Regions from separate parts of the Homo sapiens genome. Here all the other regions are linked to region 1. Evidence: promoter capture Hi-C in human tissues and cell types (Jung and others, 2019). All regions are on one chromosome and are shown on one strand. Each heading gives the region's core, a stretch centred on a gene start or on the middle of the fragment in contact. The rest is flanking DNA. Distances are from core to core; before and after follow the strand shown. Region 1 holds the start of SNX10 (sorting nexin 10). Region 2 overlaps SNX10 (sorting nexin 10). Region 3 has its middle 39 kb from the start of SNX10.

Region 1 (3,791 bases), core at 1,173-3,672:
ACTATATACCTTCCTCTTTGAACAGGGCTTAGAGAACAGAAGAGCTAATTCATACCTACCAGATTACTAAGAAAAAGATGTTTGGAGATAACAATGCTAAATTTGGGGGATTCCCCACAGAGTCAACCATGAGCTTGGCCAAAAGCCCTTCTCCGCCATGCTAGGAAATGAAAATCTGCATAGACTGGCCCCTGTTCTCAACCAGTTGTCTGCCTTTCACCAAGTGGTTGTGAAACCACAGCCCTGTCACTAAAAACGGAAAAAAGAAGTTATTTTCCCCAGTAACTTAACGAGCAAAATGAAGCCTTAAAATGAAAGTAGTGATCCTAGGGCTGAGAAAAGATATCCACTGCTCCAAAGCCCAGCAGAATTGCTGTAGAACACCAACGTTACTCTTTGATTAACATACTTTTATTTTTTTTAATGAACGTGCTTATTTCTATTACTTTAGGTTACCTAACTCAGGGGTCCTTCCCATTAGTAAAATAAGAGGAAGTGTGTACCAGCCTGGAGGGGAGACTCCCTGGTGGGGCACAGTGTCAGCCTGAGCAAGTCCCACTGTCAACACTGATGTCCTCCCCAGTTAAATGGTAATCAAAAGTGAGAATGAAATGGACTGGTAGAAGAAACAGGACGACCAGTTGAGTCCATGCTAATCACTGATATTTCACATCTTCACACAGTTTCTTCTAAATGTATTTTATTTTTGTATTTTTATTAAAAACTGCCCTATCAGTCAATCTCAAGTCTACCCTTCCTTTAAAAAATAGTAATAAAAGGCCGAGCGCAGTGGCTCACCCCTGTAATCCTAGCACTTTGGGAGGCCGAGGCAGGTGGATTGCTTGAGCTCAGGACTTCCAGACCTGCCTGGGGCAACATGGCAAAACCCTGTCTCTACAAAAAAAATACCGAAGTTAGCCAGGGGTGTGGTGGCCCGCACCTGTGGTCTCAGCTACTAGGGAGGCTGAGGTGGGAGGATCACTGAAGCCTGGGAGGTGGAGTTTGCAGTGAGCCAAGATCGCACCACTGCAATCCAGCCTGGGTGACAGAATAATACCTTGTCTCAAAAGAAAAAGAAAAAAGTAAATAATATTAAGAATAATGAAGGTCCAGCTATGTACCTACCTTAGGAATAGGCATCACTGGAAGTGATGGCAGAGGCAAGGCAGGAGTCCCTGACCTCACCTCCATTCTCTCACTGAGGAGCCCCTGCAGAAGCTGGTCAACTATCCAAGCAGTCCCTGCTTCTTCCTGGCGAAGGCCTCAGCCTCCAGCCCAGCCCCCTCCTGGGAGAGGAGGGGGAGCTTATGCAATCCAAACCCAGTTCCCAGGCCCCAGAGGTGGACATAACTCCGGGGTGGAAGTCAGAAGCCTGCCAGGTTGTAGGCCTGGTTCTGCTCCCATCTGGCTGAATGATCCTGGTCCCAACACTCAGCGTCCCTCGGCCTTAGCCTCCCTGTCTGTAAAATGAAAGGTTTGATGGAGATCATGTGCAAGCCTCCTCCCCGTTCTAATTTTCTGATACCATCATTTTTAACGTGTCTTGTAGAGATAGAAGCCCTTCCTTTCAGCAGGACATGTTGCTCCCCATTCCGTGACGATCCCCCTCAATAATCCGTGTAATTTGAGAAAAGTATGATGCATCGGAACTGAAAAACAGGCTGTTGCTTTCCTGGTCACCAAATCTGATAATCAGTCAATTATATGGATTTTCCCCTGGGCCTTCTCCCTCAATCCCACAATCCCACGAATAAACCTGCCTACCCCTCCCAATTCCTCAACTCAAGGCTACCCGTTAATGAATGAATAAAAAAATAAATAAATAAATTTTAAAAACCACCTCCCCACCCCCTTCTACCCGGCCTGGTGTAAGGTGCCACAGCACTTCTTCCGTAATCTAGAATCCACCTCTGCCCCACCCTCTCCCCGGGGTGTCTTTTTAGCCAAGAATCCCTGGATCGACGCGCTCCATCTCCCCGCTCTACCGCGCTGATCATTTCTCCCTGCCCGGCACACCTCGGCTGAAAAGGAGGCGGCTCCTCTGCTCCAAGCCCAAGGGACCCAAACCTCTTTCCAGCCCGCAAGGGTGCGGGCACCTGGGAACAGCGGGAAGGGCCCGCGCCTCTGGAAAGAAGGGCCGCCGTCCCCACCTGGGCGGTGCAGGGGAGGCCCCCTCAGCGGGTCTCTTGTCACTTACGGGCGGCTCCTCCGGGCAGAACAGAGCAGGGCCGGGCCGAGCCGGGCTTGCGGGCCGCGGAGTTTGCTGACTCAAAGGCGCGCGGCGGCAGCGGCGGCGGCGAGCGCCCAGGAGCGCACACGAGCGCAGCCCCGCGCTCCCCGCGCTCCCCGCGCTCCCCGCGCACGTAGCGGCCCCGCGCCCGCGCTCAGCGCCAGCCGTCCGCCTGTGGGCGCCGCGCCTAGTGCTTCCGCCGCCTCCGCGCAGCCCAGCCCAGGTGCGCCCCCACCCTGCAGAGCTAGCCTCCTGCTTCCTGAAATTGAGTTAGGGAGGAAATGCCCCCATTAGTCCGGACGTTGAGGCTGGAGGTGCTCCAGCGGCACCCTTCGGAATTCGCCACCTGAGTCACCTTAAGCTTCCTAACCCTGACCCCACAGTTATGGGGAGGATTGCCGATGGGGAGGAGGACGGATAAATAACGTGATAAACAAGAATGGCAGAATGTTCATAGCATCTAGGTGGTGGGCTATGGTGTTTATATAAAATTATTTCAGTTTTTGTCTATGTTTGAAATGTCTCAATAAAACATTTGGGGGGAAAGCTAATGAGATCTGCCAAGGGACCTGACTGAGGAAAGCATTTCCCAAATGGCACCTGAGGCTGGGTCCCCACACCTGTTTGCATGGGAAACCACAATCATCACTTAAACTGCTAATAAGTGACTGAATGACACAGAATAATAAGCATAGCCTAATATTTCATTTTTCAAGCATGAATTTTCCCATTAGATACAGCTTGTCGCTGATCATCCTCCAGGGACCATTCCAGGCCCACCTGAAAACGCATCTGTTCACCACACCTACATTAACTCCCTAACAAAACGTATAAATATACAATGTTGTGTCTTAACATCTTGGATCTTGAAGTTGTATTGCTGAACCCTCAATCACTGGTATTTAATTTCCTAAAATTGCACCCAAGTCATGACACACAAGTGAATGCAACCATGATCACTTTTGAAAATCAAATTAAGCTGGTGTGGTGGCTCACGCTTGTAATCCCAGCACTCTGGGAGGCCGAGGCGGGTGGATTACAAGGTCAGGAGATGGAGACCATCCTGGCTGACATGGTGAAATGCCGTCTCTACTAAAAATACAAAAACTTAGCTGGGCGTGGTGGCGCGCGCCTGTAATCCCAGCTACTCGGGAGGCTGAGGCAGGAGAATAGCTTGAACCCGGGAGGCAGAGGTTGCAGTGAGCCGAGATCATGCCATTGCACTCCAGCCTGGGCGACAGAGCAAGATTCTGTCTCAAAAAAAAAAGAAAGAAAATCAAATTAAAGTGTATTTTTTATATTCTTGTCCCTATGCTCCGCAAAGAAAAACATTGAGTAGAAAACAAAATGCAGCATGTATCTAAGATCCTAAGAGATTCTGTAAAATTAAAATCTTTCTGAACTTATTGTCAAGAGCATGACTTTACAGCTGTAGACAAAGCAGCAACAAACCCTTGGAGAGTCTACTGAAAGTCATTTGAATATCTGTTAGAATTTTGACCCTATTAAGACTGGTAACTTGGGCCGGGCGCGGTGGCTCACGCCTGTAATCCCAGCACTT
Region 2 (3,791 bases), core at 525-3,024, 47 kb before region 1:
TGAGAGACTCGTGTATCTCTTCACAACCCCACTGCCCTGAGAGCATGGTACACAGATCTGCCCAAACCGAAAACTCGAGGAGAAAGCTTCCTCTATTTTCTACCTTGGAATACTTTTTCTATAAAATGCAAAATATCTATGAAGCAAAGATAAAATTCTATAAAGTACCACTTGGCAATCTTTTTCTGTAGAGGGTCAGATAGTAAATATTTGAGGTTTTGTAGGCCACAGGGTCTCTGCATCTCCTACTCAAGTCTGCAGTGCATAGTGAAAAGGCACTCACAGATGCCTAACTGAATGAACATGGCTGGGTTCCAGTTAAACTTTATCTACAAAAACTGGTGGCAGTAGTTTGCAGACCCCTACTACAGAGCAAGCCATTACTGTGCCTTCAGTACTTATATATACTATACCTTAATAATACCTTTCTGAGGTCAACAGGCCAAAACATTTGCAATGCTAGGCTTGGTCTATATGCCTATGGGAGATCTCACTGACAAGTAAACTACTGACCAAAAGTTTGTGGACTATACATGTAAGGAGTGAGAAAGGATCACATATTTTTTCAAATGATGAAATAAGGAATAACAAGTATGGTTTATATCATTATTTAAAAAAAAAACGGCAAAGACTTTTTCTAAATCTTTAGATCAGGTGCTCCCTGATTCATGAATCACTAATAAAAGCCAATTTAATTTTTAAACAAAATTTTTTGTAACTTTTTCTTTTGGCAAGATCAAAGTCTCAGAACCAACTATTTAAAAAAAAAAAAAAAAGATCGGCCAGGTGGGGTGACTCACGCCTGTAATCCCAGTACTTTGGGAGGCCAAGGCAGGTGGATCACAAGGTCAGGAGTTCGAGACTCCACCCTGGCCAATATGGTGAAACCCCGTCTCTACTAAAAATAGAAAAATTAGCCAGGCATGGTGGCAGGCGCCTGTAATCCCAGCTACCCTGTAATTCCAGCTACTCGGGAGGCTGAGGCAGGAGAATCGCTTAAACTTGGGAGGCAGAGGTTACAGTGAGCCGAGATCATGCCACTGCACTCCAACCTGGGTGAGTGAGACTCTGTCAAAAAAAAAAGAAAAAAAAAAAAGATCAAGCTCAACAACAACAAACAAAAACAAAGAAAAAAACCCTAAATGCCTGACTTCACCACTGTGCAACCTGGCATGTAAGAAAATTGCACTTGAACCCCATAAATTTATACAAATAAAAAATCCGATTTAAAAAATATGCAAGACCGGGCACATGCCTGTAATCCCAGCACTTTGGGATGCTGAGGTGGGAGGATCACTTGACCTCAAAGTTTGAGACCAGTCTGGGCGGCATGGCGAAATCCTGAAACCGCCTTTGCAAAATTATAACTGAGGAAATTATGGCAGTGAAAGAAATCAGACCTAACCGACTCCATCTTGCTTCTAACGCTTAAGATGTCCTTATTCATTCCTGGGCATAAGCTGAACTAACTTCGGGAAGGAATTCAGTTCATGGTTTGACTCTGAAACAAAACTGGTAACAGCCCTTTCCCGAAAAGACCCCTTTCTTGCCTGGGGTCCAGTCTGCCTTTGCAGAACTAACAAATTAGCTACAAGATTAGAAATTACAATTTAGGGGCCATGTAGTCTCTGGCTCCAAGGGTCTGAACCTTCCTAAATTGCTCCTGGGGATAACATCGTTATTGCAAAACCTAAGATCCATGCTTTAGATACTTTGCAGACCCTGCAACTGCACTGGAAGGATCAGCTGATATCACCCAGAGTGGTAATCTGGCTCAAGCAGTTCTGCCATCCCACCCAGGCACAGAAGACAGGAAGAAAACCTCATTTTGACCCCCCTACGATTCCATCTCCAACCTGACCAATCAGCACTCCCTACTTCCTAAGCTCCTACCCGCCAAATTGTCTTTAAAAACTCTAATCCGGCCGGGCCCAGTGGCTCACACCTGTAATCCCAGCACTTTGGGAGGCCGAGGTGGGCGGATCACGAGGTCAGGAGATCGAGACCATCCTGGCTAACAACACGGTGAAACCCCGTCTCTACTAAAAATACAAAAAATTAGCCAGGTGTGGTGGCGGGCGCCTGTAGTCCCAGCTACTCGGGAGGCTGACGTAGGAGAATGGCGTGAACCAAGATCACGCCACTGCACTCCAGGCCTGGGCAACAGAGCGAGATGCAGTCTCAAAACAACAGCAACAACGCTGGTCTCCCACACAGCGGGGTCTGCGTAAATTACTCTCTCGCCGTTTCAATTCCCGTCTTTATAAATTGGCTCTGTCTAGGCAGTGGGCAAGGTGAACTCATTGGGAAGTTACTATCCCACCTCTACAAAATACACAAAAATTAGCCAGACATGGTGGCATGTGCCTGAAATCCAGGCCACTCGGGAGGCTGGTGTTGTAGGGCTGCTTGAGCCAGGGAGGCAGAGGCTGCAGTGAGCCAAGACCATGCCACTGCACTCCAGCCTGGGTGACAGAGTAAGACTCTGTCTCACAGAAAAAAAAAAAAAAAAAAAAGGACAAAGGAATTGATAGACGTTTCTCCAAAGATGACGTGCAAAGGGCCAATAAACATATGAAAACATGCTCAACATCACTAATCCACAATGAGAAATTAACTCACACCCGTTAGGATAGATCCAAGAAACAAAAAACCAAAAAAGCATTGAGGAGGATATGGAGAAATCGGAACCCTTCTGTTGGCAGCAATGTAAAATGGTGCAGCTGCTATAGAAAACAGTATAGCAGTTCCTCAAAAAATTACAGAAAACTACCACATGATCCAGGAATTCCACTTCCAGATATCCATCCAAAAGAGCTGAAAGCAGGCTCTCAAAGAGCTATTTGTGGGTCCACATCCACAGCAGTATTATTCACAATAGCCAAGAGGTGGAAGTAACCTAAGTGTCCATCAATGAAATGTAATGGATGAGCAAAATGTGGTCTCTCCATACAATGGGTACCATTCAACCTTAAAAGGGAAGGAAATTCTGCCACATGCTACAAAAGAGGACGAACCTTAAGGACATTATGCTAAATGAAATAATCCAATCATAAAAAGACAAATCCTTTATTATTCCACTTACATGAGGTTTTCAAGGAAATTAAATTGATAAAGACAAAGTAGAATGGTGGTTGCCAAGGGCTAGAGGAAAGGGTGAAAGGAGCATTTAAGGGGGAAATGGAACATTCTTGTTTACTGATACAGAGTTTCACTTCTGTGAATGAAAAAGATCTAGAGATCTATTGTACAACAATGTGAATACACTTAACGCTACTGAAGTGTACATTTAAAAAGTGGTAAGGTCTATACACTAGTATGGTGTAGACCATGTGAAAAAAATAATAAAAATGGGTAAGATTGCAAATTTCATGTGTTTCTTACCACAATTAAAAATAAAGTTTTTGAAAGAAGGTCAATAATCTACTTAAATGTTTCATCTTGCTATTAACAGAAGTGCAAATAAAAACAAGTACCATATTTTTTTCTTTAAAATTAGAAATTTCTGTAATAATATCCACTGCTGGCAAGGATCATGAGAAATGGGAACTAAATACTGTTGGTAGGAATGTGAGCTATTTCAATATTTCTGAAAGATAATTTGGCCATATATTTCAAAAGCAACAATATAAATTGTTTATATTCTTTAACTCGATAATTTGACCTCTGGGAACTCAATCTAAAAAAATATCAGTGCTACATGTGCAAAATATTTGTACAGGAAAGAATGTTCAAAATGCAGTGTTTTTAAGAAACAATCAAAGAAAATGGAAACCTAAACGTCCATAAGC
Region 3 (3,791 bases), core at 403-2,902, 39 kb after region 1:
TCTGATTTCAAGATCACTGCATGGTGCAAGACAACTTTCCTACATGGCAGGCATCGTTCTAATCCCTCTTGTATGCATTATCTTGTAATACTCATAACAGCCCTGTGAGGTAAGTGCTATTATTACCTCCATTTTGCAGATAAGTCAGATAAATAACTTGTCAACCATCAAGTTTATGCTCTTAAACCATATTTTTAGAGATTATATCTCCCTATCCAGGAACCTGGCTCATGACTTACTCTGCATTTATTTAGGTCTCCTTTAATTTCTTGCACATCTTTTATTAAATTTATTAGTAGGTTCTCTATTTTGCTCTTGTTACTGATATCATTTGGGATATTATATTTTCTTTGAGGCTGATGAATCTAAAATGTAATTGAATTTTGTGTATTGACTTTATATCCAGCTATCTTACTAAGCTTATTAACTATAATAATTTGTCTAAAGGATTTTGAGTTTTCTATGTAAACATTTATATCATCTCTGAATAAAACCAGTTTTGTTTCTTCCTTTTCACTCCTAATACCTGCCCACCTCCCTTTTCTCCTTCTCCTCTCCTTTCCTTCCTCCCTCCCTTTCTTGTCTTACTGCATTGGTTACAAGCTCTAGAAATGAGAACAGTGAGCATCCTCTTCTTGATCCTGGTTTTTAAAGAGAAAGTTTCTAAAGTTTTACTAAGAATGATGTTTACTATAGGTTTTTGTAGATAGTCTTTATTTGGCTAACAAGAATTGCTCTCTAGTCTTGGTTTGCTAAGGGTTTTTCCATAAACGCTTTTCCTACAACTATTGAGAATGTGTTTTTTTCTTTAATCTATTAATGTAATAAATTACATTTACAAAAATTTTTAGTGTTAGATGAAATATATTTCAGGGATAAAGTGAACTTAAGTTGTAGTATCTTTTCTATGTTTTGTTGCATTCAGTTTTGAAACTAAACAAAAACTAATATTTTGTTTAGTTTCACACCTATGTTTACGAGTGGGATTAGTCTGTAATTTTCATTTTTTATATTATCCATATCTAGTTTAGGTATCAAGATCACACTAGCCTCATAGACTAAATTGAGGACTGTTTCTTCTTTTTATATCCTTTGGAAGCCTTGTATTAAATTGGAATTATCTGTTCCTTGAAAGGTTAGAAAAATTTTCTTGTAGGCATGGTGATTTATTTTTAAACATTATCTTAATTTTTTATTTTTAAATAATTTCAGCTTATAGAAAACTTACAAGTACACTACAAAGAACTCCCATAAAATTTTCATTCAGATGACCCAATTATTGACGTTCTATCACATTTGTCTTATTATTCTATCTCTCTCTCAAGACACATACACACACAAATGCTTTTTTTTTTTTTTTTTTTTTTTTTTGAGATGGAGTTTCGCTCTTGTTGCCCAGGCTGGAGTGCAATGGCGTGCTCTTGGCTCACCACAACCTCCGCTTCCCGGGTTCAAGTGAATCTCCTGCCTCAGCCTCCCAAGTAGCTGGGATTACAGGCATGTGCCACCATGCCCGGCTAATTTTGTATTTTTAGTAGAAACCAGGTTTCTCCATGTTGGTCAGGCTGGTCTTGAACTCCCGACCTCAGGTGATCCGCCCATCTCGGCCTCCCAAAGTGCTGGGATTACAGGCATGAGCCACTGCGCCTGGCCACACAGTTTTTTTTTTTTTTCTCTCTCTCTTTTTTTAAATAGAGATGGGGTCTCACTGTGTTACCCAGGATGGTCTTGAACTTCTGGGCTCAAGCTATCCTCCCACCTTGGCCTCTCAAAGTACTAGGATTACAGGCATGAGCCACTGAGCCCAGACTCTATTTTTCTGAACACTTTTAGAATAAATTGAGGATATGAAGTTCCATTACCCCGTAATACTTTCAGTGCATATTTCCTAAAATGAAAACCACTCTCCTAATTAACCACGTAATACTCACAAAATAAAGAAATAAACATATATATACACATATATATATACATATATATATATTTTGTTTGTTTGTTTTTTGTTTTTTTTTTTTGAGACGGAGTCTCGCTGTCGCCCAGGCTGGAGTGCAGTGGCGCGATCTCGGCTCACTGCAGGCTCCACCCCCTGGGGTTCACGCCATTCTCTTGACTCAGCCTCCGGAGTAGCTGGGACTACAGGCGCCCGCCACCTCGCCCGGCTAATTTTTGTATTTTTAGTAGAGACGGGGTTTCACCGTGTTAGCCAGGATGGTCTCCATTTCCTGACCTCGTGATCTGCCCGCCTCGGCCTCCCAAAGTGCTAGGATTACAGGCGTGAGCCACTGCGCCCGGCCAGATATTACATTTTCATTTATCCACAGAACTCATTCAAATTTCACCAGTCATCCTAATGATGTCATTTATAGGTCTGGGGTCCAATCCAAGGTTGAATTGCACGTACTTATTCTGCCTCTTTAGTCTTTCCAATTTGGCACAGTTCCTCAGGCTTTCATGTCTTTCATGACCTTGACATTTTTAAAAAGAACAGTTTAGTTATATTGTAGATTGTTCTGAAATTTAGGCTTACCTGATAATTTCTTATGATTAGATTCAATCTATGCATTTTTGGCGAAAAACACACAGTGATAGGTTTTCCTGCCACACATCAGAAAGCACATAGTGATTTGTCCCATTACTGTTTTTGTTGTTTTTTTTTTTTTGAGACTGAGTCTCACTCTTATTGCCCAGGCTGGAGTGCAATGGCATGATCTTGGCTCACTGCAACCTCCGCCTCCGGGGTTCAAGTGATTCTCCTGCCTCAGCGGCATGAGTAGCTGGGATTACAGGCACCTGCCGCCAAGCCTGGCTAATTTTTGTATTTTTAGTAGAGACGGGGTTTCACCATGTTGGCCAGGCTGGTCTCGAACTCCTGACCTCAGGTGATCTCCCCACCTCAGCCTCCCAAAGTGCTGGGATTACAGGCATGAGCCACCGCGCCCAGCTGTGACATTAACTTTTATCCATTGGTTTAGATAATGTCTCTCTTTTTTCATCACTGTAAGTGAAACAGTATTTTGTACTATTAATAATAAATGATTATTTTTGTGATACTTTAGACTACATAAATGTCCTGTTCCTCATCCAATTTATATCCACAAATTTCAGGATTTATTGGTGATTCCTGTCTGAATCATTTATTATTATTATGGTGGTTGCCAATTGGTGATTTTTTTTCTATTCTTTTCTTTTTCTAGAGACAGGGTCTCACTCTCTTGCACAGGCCGAAGTGCAGTGGTGTGATTATAGCTCACTGCGGCCTCCAATCTCTGGGCTCAAGCAATGCTCCCACCTCAGCCTCCCAAGTAGCTGGGAGAACAGTCGTGCACCATTGCCATGATCTCTTCTTATAAAGCCACTAGGTCCCTTCCCATGATAATCCATTAATCTGTGAATGAACTAATCCATTCACGAGGGCAGAGCTCTCATGATCCAATCATCTCTTAAAGGCCCCACCTCTAAATACTGCCAATATTGCCAGATTGAGGACCTTTCTTTTTTCTTTCTCTTTCTTTCTCTCTCTTTATTTCCTTTCCTTTCCTTTTTTTGTTTCTTTTTTTTTTTTTTTTTTTTGAGAACAGGACCTCACTGTTGCCCAGGCTGGAATGCAGTGGTGCGATCTCGGGTCACTGCAACCTCCGCCTCCCAGGTTCAAGCAATTCTCCCACCTCAGCCTCCCCAGTAGCTGGGAATACAGGCTACTGTATAATTTTTTATATTTTTGGTAGAGATGGGGTTTCACCATATTGGGTAGGCTGGTCTCGAACTCCTGACCATAAGGTTCTTGTATTGGT

The links. Contacts are between HindIII fragments. The study calls those that stand out against the background at their distance.
Region 2: a fragment that was not itself captured here is called in contact with the fragment with the promoter of SNX10 in region 1 in 2 of the 25 tissues and cell types used here (liver and thymus).
Region 3: a contact is called between a fragment that was not itself captured here and the fragment with the promoter of SNX10 in region 1, in 3 of the 25 tissues and cell types used here (liver, ovary and pancreas).

What each region holds. Positions count from the first base shown.
Region 1 is chr7:26,290,493-26,294,283 of GRCh38, reverse strand. SNX10 (sorting nexin 10) reads right to left here and starts at 2,422. Exons shown (of 7, transcript NM_013322.3): 1 at 2,198-2,422. RefSeq lists an enhancer at 388-437 and silencers at 1,929-2,008, 2,159-2,398. The HindIII fragment of the contact is 12,028 bases long and covers 1-3,791 here.
Region 2 is chr7:26,336,836-26,340,626 of GRCh38, reverse strand. The region is part of intron 1 of SNX10 (sorting nexin 10); the gene reads right to left. Among named protein-coding and RNA genes, the nearest start is that of SNX10, 47 kb to the right of the region's middle. The HindIII fragment of the contact is 7,680 bases long and covers 1-3,791 here.
Region 3 is chr7:26,250,576-26,254,366 of GRCh38, reverse strand. No RefSeq gene overlaps it. Among named protein-coding and RNA genes, the nearest start is that of SNX10, 39 kb to the left of the region's middle. The HindIII fragment of the contact is 6,320 bases long and covers 1-3,791 here.